Regions from separate parts of the Homo sapiens genome. Here regions 1, 2, 4, 5 and 6 are each linked to region 3. The links are contacts of gene promoters, found by promoter capture Hi-C in blood cells and fetal thymus (Javierre and others, 2016). All regions are on one chromosome and are shown on one strand. The core of a region is centred on a gene start or on the middle of the fragment in contact, and the rest is flanking DNA. Distances in the headings are between cores, read along the strand shown. Region 1 overlaps LOC105375690 (a long non-coding RNA gene). Region 2 has its middle 13 kb from the start of LINC01181. Region 3 holds the start of FZD6 (frizzled class receptor 6). Region 4 overlaps ATP6V1C1 (ATPase H+ transporting V1 subunit C1). Region 5 has its middle 38 kb from the start of LINC01181. Region 6 overlaps BAALC (BAALC binder of MAP3K1 and KLF4).

Region 1 (2,700 bases), core at 97-2,596, 190 kb before region 3:
TTAAATGCACATTGAACAACATCTCAAGGATTAAAAAAAACACTGTAGAAGTACACTTGTTAGGCTAAAGCATTCAACTGCCACTTATTTAACCCTGCAATATTCTAGGGTTGATCTTCTGCTGTGTTGTCTAATATGGTAGCACTAGCCATAGCCATACTAACCACATGTGGCTATTGAAATTTAAACATATATTAATTTATTATGTTAATTAAGATTAAGTAACATTAAACATTCAGTTCCTCAGTTACACTAATCACATTTTAAGTGCTCATAGCTATATATGGCTACTGGCTGCCATTTTGCATAGTGCAGATATAAAATATTTTCACCTTGGAAGAAATTTCTCTTGAACAGCACTGATAGAGGATTAGTTAAGCATCTGTATTGCAAGAAGTCAACATGGAAAACATCCCATTGTCTTTATTTTTTGTTTACTTCTTTTAAAATGTATATTTTTCTTCTTGTAAGATGCTTTAATTTTTTTAATGTGATGGTCAATGAATTAAGAAATGGAAATATTCGTAAACCATATTGAAGGTGGGGAAATCTTGGCAGGCTCAACAACATGATTTTCTCTTAAGAAACAACATCATGCTTTGGAAATCCCAGAAGATCATAACACCCCTGAGGGAATGAGCTCATTTGTAAGTAAGTCTATGAGAATGATAACAGACATACTGCTCGCATGTAAGTAAGGGATAAATAAAGCTCAATTTCAAAGTCTTGTGCAACTGCCATGAGTAGCTTAGTCAAGAAGGAAGAACTAAGTATAGAGGTGTAAAGTTGGAATCTACAGGGCTTTCCTGTATAATAACAGTTAGCTTATCAATAGAAAAAGAAAGCTCTACCTCTTAGGACACTTCCAGTAACATATAAAGGAAATTCGACATAAAATGACAAACAATAAGGAAATTTATTGGCTCATGTAACTAGAAAATTCAGAAATAGATAATCAGAATTGATTAATCCAGCAGCCTAGTTATTTTGTCAGGGACTCAAATTTCATTCTGGTTCTGTACTTTGCTGTCCATGGTATTGATTTTAACAGTGATTCCTTTCACAGACATAATGTGGCTGACAAAAACAGTCAGGCCTTTCCACAACTGAGCTAGTCTACTCCTATATCCATTCAATAGAAGTTCTGAACTGTGCACTAATTTGAGCACCTTTTATTCATCCCTGTGGCCAGGGCAGGCCATGCTCTGATGACTTAAGTCTGACTAACCTGAACCTATCTCTGTAGCAAGAGAGTGGGATTACTTGATAGGCTTGACCCAACAAAACCACATGGTTGCCACATAATAGGGAAGGGTGAAATAGATGCTGGGAAATAATCATAATACTTAACTATGTTGGTGGACAGAAAGTATTATTTTTTAGTTTTCATTAATGTGAACTAATTTTTGAAATCTTTACATTTTAAGTACTTTTTTTCACACACACAAAAAATATGCTGTGGGCCAGGCGCAGTGGCTCACACCTGTAATCCCAGCACTTTGGGAGGCCAAGGCAGGCAGATCACTTCAGGCCAGGAGGTCCAGAACAGCCTGGCCAACATGGCGAAACCCCGTCTCTACTAAAAATACAAAAATTAGCCAGGTGTGGTGGCACGTGCCTGTAATCCCAGCTACTCAGGAGGCTGAGGAATGAGAATCGTTTGAATCTGGGAGGCGGAGTTTGCAGTGAGCTGAGATCGTGCCACTGTACTCCAGCCTGGGCGACAGAGTGAAACTCTATCTCAATATATATGTATATAATGTGAAGCGTAAAAGTGAGCAAATGATGTTGATTTCAGAATCACAATGAAAATAACAGAGATAGCATAAGGAAAAAAATAGCATGAAAGTAGTAAATTTTATATTTTCAATATAATCAAAAAATGAGGGAAAATAAAATTTTTAAAATGTCATGAAGAGATGATTGAGATATATCCAGATTTTACCCTAAAACTATAGATAAGAATCTTTGAAAAAATAAATAGCACCAAAAGTGAAATAGAAGGACTCTGACCACCCCACTGTTAAAACAATACATACATAGGAATTATTTACTTTATAAATAGAGTCCCTGTTATAATATATAAGCATGTATTGACTTGATGACCATGATAAGGTACAACCATAAACATGTTATTTCTTATCATTTCTTCACTCATAAGAGAATATTGGAGAATTTTTACCCAAGTTCACTATAAATATTACAAAAGGTTTTTTTTTGTTTTGAGATTTTTGAGCCTCAGCCTCCCAAGTAGCTGACAAAAGTTTTTGCAAACAACCAAAAGGACCCTAGATGGATGCAGGAAATTTTTTTAAAATAATGATGATGCCCTCACTTTGTTTTACCTTCACTTTAAGATTAATGATAAAATTATGGTTTCAACTATTATTTTAATGAAGCTAATATCTAAAACTGTATCTCCATTTTCAGTTATTCATTCCCAGTTGTCTATATAGCATGTATACTTGAGGGTTTCACTATCACCTCAAACTGAATATATCTAAAACAGTTTATACACTATCTCCTCCAAGAACAAAAAACCAATTCTTTCTCTGACTTCCATTTTTCTGTCATTGATGTCATCATTTTCCATAAATCTCCCAAGGAAGGAATGTCAAAAACATCCATGATTATTCCTTATGGTTTCTTATTTTTAATCAATTTCTACATACTATCAATTATCAGGTATTAATACATCAG
Region 2 (2,700 bases), core at 175-2,674, 190 kb after region 3:
TGCACCCATTCACCAATCCTTCTTCATCCTTCCTTCCCAGCCTCTAGTAACTGTGCTATCTGTTTCAAAACACTGAATTACAATTCAGGCCCATGGCCCCTACCTGAACCCTTGTTGTGGGTGGGAAACCCAGTCACCCCTCAGCTGATGGCACGATGCCAGCAGGAGCGATGGGTCACATGACAAAGAGAGAAGCAGGTTTTCTCTCCACATCTGATAAACACTGACAAGAGTTAGGTGATTTTCCTACACACAGCACTATCTTGTTCTGAGAAAGGATTTGCCTTAACCAAATACGGGGCCTGACAGCTTTTTCTCTCAAATGAATCAGTGGGGAGGAGCTGAAGTGACTTTTTGTTTTGAAAGAAATGCAATATTTAAAGAGAGAGGTTTCTATTTTTCCCCCAGGAGAAGGGAGCCCTTAATATTCCCATCAACGATGACACATGTGAATCACAGCCCTTTCTTTCCTATAAAAGCATCATGATTCAACACAAAGCCCGCCAGCTGTGGGCTGCATGTGATTCTCCTGACAATGCCGGCTTTCCCGGGAGAAGAACTCTGGGAGCACATCACTCCCAGCTGCAGGTTATTATGACCAGCTCTCTGTCTGCATCTTTTCAGAGATTGGGGATGGGCTAGGGGCAACCCTTGTGATGCACGCAGAGGGCTCTGCAGAAAGGTCGCTCTCCTGTCATCTGTGAACTAGGTCACCTTGGCTGAGAAAGCAAACTGCATTTTGTTATTGTTTTTCTTTTTTATTTCAAATTTTGTGCACAGACAAAAATGTATAATTATTTGTTGAATAAGCTTTACAGAAGTATAACTTATATACAATCAACTATGCCCTTTTCTGTGGACTACTTTTGTTCCCCCCAAAATTCGTATGTTGAAACCTAAGCCCCAGTGTGATGGTATTAGCAGGTGAGGGCTTTGGGAGGCTATTAGATCATGAAGGTGGAGCTTTCGTAAGTGGGATTAATGCCCTTGTTAAAAAGACCCCAGAGAGCTCCTCTATCTATTCCACCATGAGAGGACTTAGCAAGAAGTTGTCAAGAGGGCCCTCACCAGAACCTGATCGTGCTGGCACCCTGATCTTGGACTTCCAGCCTCTAGAACTGTGAGAAGTCAATTTCTGTAGTTAATAAGCCACCCAATTTGTGATATTTTGGGGGAGCAGCCTGAACAGACTAAGACACCCAATTTATATGCACATTTTGAGATTTGACGAATGATACATGTGTGCATCCTCCACCCTAACCAAGAGATAGAACATTTCTTCCATCCCATAGTGTTCTTGTGTCCATTTGCAGTCAGTCTCTCTCACTCCCACCCTGGCCAACAACTGAGCTGCTTCCCATCACTATAGTTTAGTTTGCCTGTTACAGAATTTTACATAAATGGGCACATATGTAGTCTTTTACGTACATGGACTCCGGTAATCTTTTACATACATTTACATAAATGGATTCATGTGCAATCTTTTGTATCTGGCTTTTTTTAAGCTCAGCATGACACTTTTGAAATTCACTAATGTTATTGAATGTATGTATAGGTAGTTTATTTGAGTGGCTGAGTAGTATTCCATTGTATGGATACGACACAACTGGTTTAGCCACTGGCCTGTTGATAGGCGTTTGGGTTGCTTCCAGGTTGGGGCGATCGTGAATAGAACTGCTGTGAACATTAATGAACAGGTCTTTCTGTGGACATGTGTCCCCCTTTGTCTTGCACACATATTATACTTAGGAGTGGATCAAATATGCTGATACAGAGCAGAAGCAGAGATTTGAGGGAAAAGTGAATATTCCAGATGACAGAAAAGAAAACTGTAATATTATAATAGAGTGGAAATCCACGTAGCATGGGTTCCTGCAGGGTGGGAGATATGGCAGCAGGCATGCAGTGTCTTGCAGTACAAATATTTAACAATTCCTTGCTTTTCTCCAGATTACATGAGCTTGGACAGGCCCCTTACCTTCTGGGACCACCACAAAATGAAAATAATAATATCTGATTCTTACTTCACCAAGCTTTAAGATAATCTCTTGGGAAATGTTCGAGTCCTTTAAGAGAACTTTAGCTATAAAAAGCCAAGGTGACATACATCGTACTTACCAAATATGGATTGAGTCCAGGAGGCCAGGCACAGACCAGACATATGGTAAGATATGTTGGGGAAATATAACCAAAAACTATATCTTCTCCTAACCCAGAAATCCTCCCCACAAAAGTAATAGAAAACAAAAACACTTTGAGAATTGAATAAGCATTAAACCAGAATGTAGCGCACATTGCAGGCAATCTGCTGAGAGATTGCAAAGACAGAAAGAAATCTCATCCCTTTATATAGTCAAGTAGGTATAACCCATACATACGTTTTCAAGATCAACAATAACTAGTTGTCAAGTAAGAGGACTAGACAGAATTATTTGCCTGTGTTAGCTAATTGGCTTTACTCAGAAGAAGAACAAACGTCCACTTTTTTGTTTTTGTTTTTGTTTGTTTGTTTGTTTGTGTTTTGAGACGGAGTCTTGCTCTGTCGCCCAGGCTGGAGTGCAGTGGCTCGATCTCAGCTCACTGCTACCTCTGCCTCCCAGGTCCTGGTTCAAGCAATTCTCCCACCTCAGCCTCCCGAGTAGCTGGGATTACAGGCACATGCCATCATTCCCAGCTAATTTTTGTATTTTCAGTAGAGAC
Region 3 (2,700 bases), core at 201-2,700:
TACTAGTTTATTCTAGAACAGAGCATAAACTACTATTCAATAAACGTATGAAGCACTACTCACCTCCATTTCCACCGCGGCAATACTCTGGTCATAATGACCCATCAGATTAGGGAAAAACGTCATGTTGTAGGCCATTTTCATACATCTGGGAACAGTAATTGGTTCACAGGTGAAGAGACTGTGCCCTCTTAGGAGGGGTAGAAAAATACACGTCAACAAAAATGTAAACATTTCCATTTTCTTCAAATTCCTGATTTTACCACATGGCTTGGATGAATCACTCTTTGCATCCTCAGAAGATCCCCATCCAAAGATAAAATGTTCAAATTCCTCATTTCACTATTTTACTCATTTTCAGGCTTTCCTGAAAATGAGTCCTGGGTCAATTACTGTAAAAACAAAAGGAGGGTGTATCAGCAACATTTGTCATAAACTCAAATGTGGAGTCAAAGTGCAGAGTTAAGATTTTCACCCCAGGTAACAAACACTGGAAAAACAACGGAAAATTCTGTCCTAACGAGATACTCTTCCACCTGCCTTAGCATGGAATATATCATTTGCTAAGGAAGCTGCACCTCTAGGAAACCGATGCTAGGAGGTTGGTGCTGTATGGAAGACAGGGTTAAAAAGAGGGAATGGCAAGAGTAAGATGGAGGAAAAAAGGAAAGCTGGTGATTCGGAGTAAATTATAAAGGATTAATATAAGCATACAATCTAAGGGCCCCTGTTGGAAAGCTTATTAAGTACAAGAAAACTAAGGCCCTGGGAAATTCCTTAAGACCCAAAGAGTTCTTAAACTTGTAAAAGACTCTGAAGAGTCAGTTTTTGTGGCAGTCTTCTGGGTATGTAGTTTTCTCGATTTTCGTAAGGCCAACTAGAGGGAGACTTTTAGGATTCCTCCAGTGGAGGAGCAACATTGCAGTTTTCACTGGCTAGGAGGGTGTAGTGCTGCCGTCGAAAGGAAAGTGCGCAAATCTGTCCCGGGGGAAGGGCGAAGGCAGTCCCCTTGCGGGAGGAAGGCTGTAGGCCCCGGATTACGAATTACCCGCGCCCCAACACACACTGATGCCCGGTCCGCCAGCGCCCCACACCCGGGAACCTGCCCCAGGCCTAGAGCCAGACAGCAGCGTTCCTGGCCTGCGCGGCGCCGCGGGGCCCCGGCATCGCCTTTCAGAGCCGGTTCCCGCTTCCGAGGAAACTCAGGTGCGGGCCGTCCCGCCGTTGCCTCCCCAGCACCTGCGGCTCCCGGCGCGCCTCATCCCAGCCGCGGCCCCTCGCCCCTCGAGGCCCTCCCCGCTTCCCCCGGCACCCGCCCGGCCCCTGCCCAGTCCCAGCCGTGGAAGCCTCACCTCGGGGGGCGGTCGAAGGCCGCTGTCCCTTCCCGTCCCCGTCTAACCCACCGTTCCCCCCAGGGACCTGAGACGGCTCCGGGGTTGCGTCCGGGACTGGAGCTGCCTCGAGAGCCGCACGGGGAGCGAGAGCTGAGCGATCCCGCGAGACTGCGCCGCCAGGTCGGGCGGGCAGGTCCGGGCTCGCGGCGGCGGCGGCGGCGGCGGCGGCGGCGGCGGCGGGACTGGCCCTGCGCCCGGGCACCGCCTGCGCTGCGCCGCCCGGCCTCACTCCGCGGCCCGCCAGGACCCGGCCCCGGTGAACGGGCTCGGGGTGCCGAGGTCCGGCTGCGGGGCCGGGAAGCCACCTCCACCTTGCCGTCTGTTACGACCCCCGAGGCGCAAGGCTGAGCCCCATCTCGCTATCCGGGTCCGGAGGGGTTCACCTTAGAAGGATTTTTTGAAGCTCTTGGCGCTGGCTCTAAAAGAACCCACTTCCTTGCGGATTTCAGGAGTCAAGAATCCTTAAACGGAGCCAATTTGCTTTGTAAAGCCAATTGCCCAAGTGACTTGAGTTCGAAAGGAGATACTTCCTGGACAACTGCTATAAAAACAACAACAAATACTTTTATTAATTCGGGGAGCCTGGTCACCAACTGGATGCTCAGGTAGCAGTGGGATTCCAGCCCTGGCGGGTCCCACAGTTTTATTGATACAAACCCTAATAGGAAGTTGAACTGCTGTAGAAATCAACCTAGTTTGGGGTACCAACTCTGTCATAGATATTAGATAAATTACCCTAATCTTTAAGGGGCATAGTTTCCTCACAATATAGGAATGACAATAGTTGTAATGATGGTTAACGTTAATTGAGCACTGGCTGTAAGTCAAATAGTGCCAAGTTCGTTACAAGTGTTTACACCTAACCTGTAAGGCCCTCCTATGAAACAGGCAGAATAGTATGAGAAGCAAATGAACTTGTAGAAGTACTTTGAAAAATGCAAAGTAACTTGTAGATGGAGGCTATTCTTGTCAGATAAATCATCCTGTTGCAGAAAAGGAATGTCATATTTCCATACCTAGAAGGACAACCCTGAACAACCAGAGTAAGAGTTTTGGAATCTGTGGGGAAAGACGAATTTGGAGTGGGGAATTCCTCCCCAGTTTTATCAAAAGCTTACTGATGTTGGGAGACAGGTAGTGATGAAGAAATATTAACATCATTAAGAGCTGGATAGTTGATGTATTGCAGAATAAATTTCTATGTAGGAAGAATATTTTCCCCTAAATTTCTAATTTTCTACATTGGAAGACTATTTCTCTCCAGTTTCTACGAACTTAATGAGATCTTTTTGTGATCAGGCTCTAG
Region 4 (2,700 bases), core at 30-2,529, 240 kb after region 3:
TATTGCTGGACTGTGTTATAATAAAGAGGTCCAATGTAAGGAATCTATGAACTCTTCAGTTCCAAGTTTGGCAATTAACTTGCTTTACCTTAAAACAGACTCAACGAAAACCCGTAATGCTTTCACGTGAATCCATGCAATAAATGCTTCACTAAAATTCACTTTCAGCCACCGTACAAGTGGTCCCTATAAAAAGAAAAAAAATTACCACAAATTTGGTCTTAGAAATAGCAATTAGATAGACCAAATATTTTTTTAAGTGACTACCTATTAGGAATCTATAGAAGAATTAAGTCGCATAATTCACTTTCTACATGTTTCACTATTATTCTCATTATCTCAGATACCTTATCTTAAATTAGATTAAAAGGTTCGCCACTACAGAGAGATCTCAACAGACACTAAAATGCATTGAACCAATTCACTAACACAGAAAAAGGTATATATTTTAATAAAAGTAGTTAAAATGGTACAAAATATAGAAATGCCTTAGGTTGGAAAATCAAAATATAAAGATCTGAATTTACTACACAACACTCTAAAACATTTAATACATGTAAAATGAAATTCAACTTACAAACAACTTCTTAGTAACAAAGATAAACAGTTATGTAGGCAAGTCATTTAACAGCACTAGCTCTTAGTTTTCCCATCTGTAAAAAAGGGAGTTGGTCTAGACATCTAAAACCTCTTTACATTCTAAATTGTATAGCGTTAAGTTCTTTTTAAACTTCAAATATTTAGTAGGATTAAGCGGATTTCAAATACCTCCTCTCTCCATACTTAAAAGATTCAGCTAACACTTCCTTGGATAACATTATTAGGCTCATTTGGATGTACCAAACAATTAATTTAAGCAAAAGGATAGCAAAACAAGTGAAAATCTTGTCAAAATATCTATTTTTTAAAAGGATTTTGGGTTTGCCCTAAAAAGCTGGTTATTTTGACATTACTTGGTTAGAATGAGTTTCCTCCTAGTTGAGATGATATGGCTTATAAAGTACTTGGAAATAATTTTCAATATTTCCCTTAATTTCCTCTTACATTATTAAGAGAAACACATTTTCACTCATTATGTTTCCCTTTCCAAACAAGCTTTTAGTCTTCACAGTAATCCCACACTTGAAGATGGCAAGAAAGTTAACACCATCTTTGATTTTCACAATTCCACTCGTTTCCCATTACACCTAGAACACACCAATTCTCCAATAGCTTAAATACAAATTGCTTCAATAAAAGATTGAGGCATTGAAAAAATCTGCCTCAAGAAAGTGAAAAGTCTTACTGAAAAGAACTTCGTTACTTAACTAAAATCACCCTTCACCTACAAGGATGTTAACCAGAATACTGCATTTAAAATTAATGTCTGATATGGATTTAGGTGGAGTAATTTCTTTTTAAGTATGTATTTTAGGATAACTATTCTATCTACTCTATTCTATCTCAGATAGACATAAGCTTTAGAAGAAAGCTTTCTTAGAAATAGAATAGTTATCTCTAGAACAGTTAAGCTTTAGAGGAAATTCATTCTGATTATTCAATTAAAAAAAAAAACTAAAATCAAATGTCTTAAAACCAAAGCAGATTTTTACTTTCTTTTAAATCAAAGGAAAGCAATACCACTTTTTCTTCTGCTTAGTACTGATAATACTAAATATTAAAAACACATACAAATTGTTTTTTCTTATCAGTAGAAAGCCTGTTCATTTCTTCTTTATCTGCTTTCATCTCCTCTTCATTATACTGGAAGTCACGAACAATGAATCTAAATTTGGGGGAAAAAAAACAAAATTGTTCACATTGTATACAGCTGATCTAACAAAGTAAATAAACAAAAAAACAATAATCTTACTTGTTTTCTCTGGCTTTGTGTCTGAAGTCATCAACTGCCTTCCTAAACAAGGTGACATTACACAGGTAACTGTCTTGGTCCTCTGAAAGAACACTATGGAAAAAAAAAAAGTCCATTTAAAGATTTATACGTATTGCTGTCTTTCATATTAAGGGCAAAATTCAGAAACAGGTGGAAGAGAAAAGTAGGGTATAATAGCCCTTCCCAAATCACCTCAATGCTTTTCAATCTGGATTGCCTCAAACACCGAAGATACTGAATGTTTATGATTTATTTTGCTTATGATACCTTAACACTCTACATTTATTTCTTACTAACCAACAAAATTAGACATTAACTCCAGTAAAGCATCCAAACGCTAAGAACCACACTTTTCAATCAACATCAGCGCCAAGCTGCTTTGTTTCCAGTGTCTCCTTGATAAGCACACTCTTCTTTTCTGGAAGCCTAATTCTTTCTTCCTTTCTCCAGGCCAACTCAGCCCCACTGATGCCCAGCCTAGCCTCTCTGCATTGCCAGTACCTTAAACCTTGGATCTTTCCTTTGCTCCCATGACATCTCTCAATCAAAAACTGACAGGCTGGGTGCAGTGGCTTATGTCTGTAATCCCAACACTTTGGCAGGCTGAGGTGGGTGATTGCTTGAGTTCAGGACTTTGAGACCAGCCTGGGCAACATGGCAAGACTGTGTCTGTACAAAAAATACAAAAACTAGCCAGGCGTGATGGTGCATGCCTGTAGTCCTAGCTACTCGGGAGGCTGAGGTGGGAGGATCACTGGAGCTGGGGAGGTTGAGGCTACAGTGAGCTGAGATTGCACCACTGCACTCCAGCCTGGGTGACAGAGTGA
Region 5 (2,700 bases), core at 183-2,682, 220 kb after region 3:
TACTTATATAAACAGAATCACCTCTATTTATACATAGGTTAGTCCAGTAAAATATTAGGAGTTTATATAAATAGTTGGAATTAAGATATTGATTGTTGAGCTTGAACCCTTTCTTAATTGGTGGCTGCTTTTAGGCCAATTATGAGAATTTAATAGTTTACATTCTATAAAAGGTTGTTTCCTGTTTCTAAAGTGTTGTCCCTCTTTAGATTAACGTTTAAATTTACATTAAGGTTAAATATTTCTTTAGGTAAATTTAAGGTTGAATTGAAATTCAGCGCTCACCCAGCTCGACTGGCATTTTACCTCTACTCAAGGATATTCTCACAATTTCACCACATGAACAAGTTTGTTCTTGTAACTGTCCATGAGTAGCTCATCTGGTTTTGGGGTTTTTAGCTAAAGTTTTCTTTGTAAAATTGTTCTAGTTAATTCATTATGCAAAAGGCATAAGGGGTAAGCTTTGTTTTTTTTTTTTTTTTCAGTTTATTCTTTCATCTTTCCCTTACAGTACTTTTTCTATAGCATCTAAATAAATTTCTATCATCTCCTATCCTCCCTGTTGTAAATAATGTTTTGGTTAAAATGTGTATGTAGTTGTTAAATTTTGTTAGTTTTAGTTCAAAGTGGTCAGATTAATATGAAATCTTCCAGGCATAAGCCAGGTGCCTTGAGTTAAACTACACTTTGGTTTGTCCAAGCACACCTTCCAGTATTCTTTGTTCTGACATCTCCTCTTATAGATGGGTCTGTGTTAATTATAAACTTGAGTTTATTGAAGCATTTGAGGAAGGTAATGGGCGGTCTATGTGTGCTTCACAACCTTATTCAATTAAGCTCTCTATTCTTAATTTACTACTAAATCCTCCTTTGGCCTGTAGTTTCATAAGGCTTATCATGGGTTGGGTGTACTTTAATCAGACAATGTAAGTCATTTCTTTCCATCTCATAAGCTACATGTTGACCTAATGTTTCCATGTAAGTACTTGTGCTTACTTTATGACCTTTTTAGGGCTTGCTGAAGATGGTAGTATACAGGCTGAATTGACAAGAAATAGTGAGGTTTATCATTGCTTATTAATTATGAACCAGGCTCCTCTAGGGGGGATGGAAACACCATACCACCAAGTCCTTTGAGTTTTAAGCTGTTGCTGATAGTACTCTAGTGAATAACTTTAAGTTTATGGCTAAACATAGTGGGGTATTTAATCCCAGTTTAGGTCTTAGCTATTGTGTATTCAGATCATATTAAAGTCATTTTTGTAGTTTATTTGTATTATCCTAAACACAAACGTGCTTTTCAGATTTTATTAATTTGGGTTTATGACTGTGGTGGCTGACACAAAATTTACTGACCCTAAGGAAAATTAGCATAGTTTAGTCAAACTTTTTGTTTATTGCTTTTTATTATTGCTATTTCCTGTAGGAGTGTGGCTGAGCAAGACGTTAGTTGCTACCAATTAGTGTGCTTGACGCCTGCTCCTTTTGCTCTTTTGCTGATTACACATGCAATGCAGATACTTGCACATGTAATCTTACTAAGAATTAATAGAAGGGCCAGAACCAAACCTGTGTGTTTATGCAGTTACATGAACTCATCTAGGCATTTTCAGTGCCTTACTTTAGTGGACTGAGCTACATCGACTTATATCTAGAAAATTCTGTCCTGGGGAAAAAAACTGCTAAATTATGTGCTATGTTAGCATTGGGGGCTCTTTTGGTAATCTTAGTAAGAAAAAAACTTTTAGCCTAGAAAGCCTAATTTTTAATTGATGTTTGGATTTTTGAAAAATGCTTTAATTAGGAGTTGGGTTAATGCTAGATGAACTTATAACTAAATTTAATAGCATGTGAGTATATATAGGAGCCTTAGTTAGCAGTCAATAGATACAAGGTTTCTTATTTGGGCAGGGTTGGCAAGAATAAAAGACTTACTCAGATACTATAAGAGCTTAAGGAGGGTAGAGGGGTTTACAAAGTTAATCATACATGGCAGGAAGAACTGCTTGTATGTGTCTGTGTCTATATCTTGTTTTTATTACGTCCATTGAGATGAATCAATTAGCACCAAATGATTTTATGTGAGTAAAGAATATTCCATTTAAGCGCAGCTACGATCTAGCTGACTGTGTCAAGGCATTGACAGCCATGTTGGATCACAGCACCCTCCAAAATTAAAAAATACCAAATGCATGACCCCACAGTTCCATGTCATCTTGTGCTAGTTAGTCATTAGTCACTGAGATGTCTTATTTAGGGGGAACAAATGAGTGGTTTCAAATCTATGGCCCTGAAGTAAGAACCAGATGCTAGGTATAGTTTCAAGTCTAGAAGCCCCTAGGTTTTATGGGCCCAAAGCAAGAAGGACATTTCCTGAGTAGGTTGCTGGTTTCTCAAAGCTTGGTGGTAAAGAAATCCTATTGGAAGTGATAAGCATGTTGTTAAGGATTGATGTGACTTGATGTGACTTAATGTGCCATGCACAATCAATGATATTATGTCCTATGTAAAAGAAAGGAATTAATGTACTGGACAATATCCAAGTGTTGAATCTATTTTATGTAATCTTGCAATATAACATGCTGTGCACTCTAATTAGTGCAATTTATGTGCGCATATGCATGGGGAATGGACCTTAATGCACAATAAAACATTTATGTAAAATCAAGCATACATAGCACTAGTACATTATTAATGGGG
Region 6 (2,700 bases), core at 138-2,637, 150 kb after region 3:
GGTCTGCTGAGAGTGTCTCGAGGCTGTAGGCCTGACATGGGAGGGCTCCTGGGATGAATGGCACAGCACCATTGTCCGAGAACAGGTTTAGACACCCAACTTCACAAGGGCAGAATGGCCTTATCAGCAGGAAGATGCTATGGATCACAGGTGCACAGATCCCAGGGTGAAGGTTGGACCTCCAGGAGTCCAAACCTGAGGGATTGCTGAGTGCAGAATGAGCCAGGAAAAGACCCCTTTCTGACTCAGAGAAGACTAGGTTCTTCCCACCAGGGCCTATTAACCGAAGAAAAAAAAATCTGCAATGTTTTTTGCAGAAAAAAAAATCTGCATTTATCCTTTGAGTTACATACAATCCAATTACACTCTTTAAATTATTTAAAAATATACAGTTGAGTTATTATTGACTATCGTCATCCCATTGTGCTATCAAATAGTAGGTCTTATTCATTCTTTCTACATATTCTGGAGGAAATTCTGGAATGCACTTAGGATACTACTACACCCTGCAGTGGAGTCACCTTAAATTCATCTTTGGCTAGGGTTGGAATTGTTTTATCTAATGTCCAATGAAGACAAGGTTCAATGGACTGATATCTAAGACAAAAGCATCTAAGATGAGACTCAGGAAAGAGGTTATAAGAATGACAGACTAAGCTTCATTTGCACAGCTAGATCATTCATTCATTTATTCATTTTCACAGTCATTCAACAAATGTGTGGAAGATGCCAGGCATGCAAATATCAATCATGTGATCCCCAACCTGGAAGAGCTCACAGACTAACTAGAGAGACAGAGGAATGACCAAGCCCTGGCAATGCAGTGTGACAGGTACCATCACTAGACTCTCAAAGTGTCTGGAGAGCCAATGGCACAACATGATACTCTGCCCAGGAGACAAGGGCCATGGGAACATGAGGCTGCCTAAACCTTTACAAACTGCCTAGGTTTGTTACCACTTGTCTCTTGCAGTGATTTTAAGAAACAGCTTATAACAAAAAGGCTTGTGTTTGGCAAAAGGGGTGTAAGGAAGGTGGGGATGTTTTCTTACTGTGCAGCCCATCAGACAGACAACAAAAAGTTGAGCAGAGAGAACTGATGAGGAAAGAGAACATCATCTCTGGGGTCTACAAGAAGAAATTGACAAACAGAAGTTTTAGATTTATTCATTTATGAGAAGTTACTCAGGGTCCTGATGTAGCCAGAACAGCGTTAGGTACAGGGATAGGACTGTGTGTGAAATGAAACCTTATCTAACCCAACAGAACCCTTGCCTTACCAAACCTAACAGTCATCCTTGACGGAAGCAGACATTAATCACTAGTTATTCAAAGATAGAACCACAAGCGGTAACAGGTAAGTCAAGGCAGCTGGGGTGTGGGTGGAGGGGGTTTATCCACCAGGAAGCCCTGGCTGTCCTCTCCACAGGTGCTCTCACTCTCGGGGATGGAGTCAGGCCAGCTGGGCTGCACTCCTGTTCCTCTCCAGGGTGGGAGGGTTGGCTCGGACAGTCCCCCTTCCTCTGCTGGGCTCCTGCAGGGGTCTGTATACACACTGACCCCTCCCCAGGCAGAAAAAAACTGCTTAGTTCCTGAATGCCTCTAATGCTTTTCTACATGCCCTTCTAGTATGGACCATGGACAATGCTGACCTGAACGGTGTCCACTTTTATGTTTTTCTTCCCTATAATAGTAACTTCTTCAGGTCATCTTTGTGCCAAATGTCTATTCAGTGAACAAAAGAGCAAAAAAAGATGTCTTTTATCTTATTCTGTCAACACAGAGAAACAAAGACCTAGAATATTGTTTTCATAGCTCTATCAAAATGAATCAAGGTCAGCAAATTTAAACGTTAAACTGAAACCAATAAGATGAAATTTAACAGAAATAAATGCAAAAATTCCTTATTTGGGTTACTGAAGTCAATTATACCAATTCAGGATTCATAAGGAAAGAAATTCATTCATTCAACAAACGTTTATTGAGCGCCACCTACGTTCTAGTCACTGTACCAGGTGCTGGGTACATAGCAGAGAAAATACAATGTCCTTGATGTCATAAAACTTAAATTTGATTATAAAGAAAGATCTAAGGATTTTAACTAATCATAAGCTTAATGTGAGTCTTCAAGGTAATATGGCAACAACAACAGCAGGAAAACAAACAAATCCTAACCTGATTTTACATGCACCAAGAGAGGTTTGTTCAATGACCATATCATAGCACACCTTGTATTGCCCTATGCCGTTCAGCTGACATCAGTAGCTTGGAGTTAGCCATAGGTCCCTTGTATCAAGAGGGACTTTGACAAACCGAGTAGTGTATTTAGAGAATGTGGTCAGGCCTACCTGAGGTGTGAGAAGTGATTGAAGGAACTGCATGTATTTGACCTGGAAGACCAATGGTAAGAGATGTGACAGCCATCTTCAAATATTGAAAGAGTTGTCTGTGCAAGACTTGATCACATGGGTCTGGAGTTCACCGGGTAGAAATTACAAGGAAGCAGGAAGAGTCTCACAGGAGAACTGCTTCATAAAGTTATGGGAAAGCCTCCTTCCTTAGGGAAAAGATATTCCATCCTTAGAGATGATGCAGAAGACAATTGTGCTGTCTGAGATCAGAGTAGAATCAAGAGATCAGACTTGACTTTGAGTTTAGTGAACTGTAAAATCAAGAATTTCATAGCATATCCCCTATTAA

The links. The method cuts DNA at HindIII sites, captures the fragments that hold promoters and counts their contacts. A CHiCAGO score of 5 or more calls a contact.
Region 1: a fragment that was not itself captured here is called in contact with the fragment with the promoter of FZD6 in region 3 in 1 of 17 cell types (activated CD4 T cells); the score reaches 5.4 in activated CD4 T cells.
Region 2: a contact is called between a fragment that was not itself captured here and the fragment with the promoter of FZD6 in region 3, in 2 of 17 cell types (endothelial precursors and megakaryocytes). The highest score is 9.0, in endothelial precursors.
Region 4: a contact is called between a fragment that was not itself captured here and the fragment with the promoter of FZD6 in region 3, in 1 of 17 cell types (megakaryocytes). The highest score is 6.5, in megakaryocytes.
Region 5: a fragment that was not itself captured here is called in contact with the fragment with the promoter of FZD6 in region 3 in 3 of 17 cell types (megakaryocytes, endothelial precursors and erythroblasts); the score reaches 6.1 in megakaryocytes.
Region 6: a fragment that was not itself captured here is called in contact with the fragment with the promoter of FZD6 in region 3 in 5 of 17 cell types (megakaryocytes, endothelial precursors, total B cells and 2 more); the score reaches 12.1 in megakaryocytes.

What each region holds. Positions count from the first base shown.
Region 1 is chr8:103,484,289-103,486,988 of GRCh38, reverse strand. The region is part of intron 4 of LOC105375690 (a long non-coding RNA gene); the gene reads left to right. Among named protein-coding and RNA genes, the nearest start is that of RIMS2, 15 kb to the left of the region's middle. The HindIII fragment of the contact is 4,909 bases long and covers 1-2,700 here.
Region 2 is chr8:103,106,886-103,109,585 of GRCh38, reverse strand. No RefSeq gene overlaps it. Among named protein-coding and RNA genes, the nearest start is that of LINC01181, 13 kb to the left of the region's middle. The HindIII fragment of the contact is 1,223 bases long and covers 813-2,035 here.
Region 3 is chr8:103,297,648-103,300,347 of GRCh38, reverse strand. It overlaps FZD6 (frizzled class receptor 6), which reads right to left and starts at 1,450. Exons shown (of 7, transcript NM_003506.4): 1 at 1,353-1,450; 2 at 64-392. The coding sequence starts at 240. It overlaps LOC105369147 (a long non-coding RNA gene), which reads left to right and starts at 1,530. Exons shown (of 2, transcript NR_148216.1): 1 at 1,530-1,999. RefSeq lists enhancers at 970-1,019, 873-1,373, 1,374-1,874 and silencers at 1,013-1,307, 1,170-1,419, 1,540-1,709, 1,720-1,769. The HindIII fragment of the contact is 1,769 bases long and covers 741-2,509 here.
Region 4 is chr8:103,062,200-103,064,899 of GRCh38, reverse strand. It overlaps ATP6V1C1 (ATPase H+ transporting V1 subunit C1), which reads right to left. Exons shown (of 13, transcript NM_001695.5): 9 at 1,853-1,945; 10 at 1,672-1,765; 11 at 89-186. Among named protein-coding and RNA genes, the nearest start is that of ATP6V1C1, 42 kb to the right of the region's middle. The HindIII fragment of the contact is 363 bases long and covers 1,098-1,460 here.
Region 5 is chr8:103,081,628-103,084,327 of GRCh38, reverse strand. No RefSeq gene overlaps it. Among named protein-coding and RNA genes, the nearest start is that of LINC01181, 38 kb to the left of the region's middle. The HindIII fragment of the contact is 1,938 bases long and covers 464-2,401 here.
Region 6 is chr8:103,145,070-103,147,769 of GRCh38, reverse strand. The region is part of intron 1 of BAALC (BAALC binder of MAP3K1 and KLF4); the gene reads right to left. Among named protein-coding and RNA genes, the nearest start is that of BAALC-AS2, 5.1 kb to the right of the region's middle. The HindIII fragment of the contact is 1,455 bases long and covers 660-2,114 here.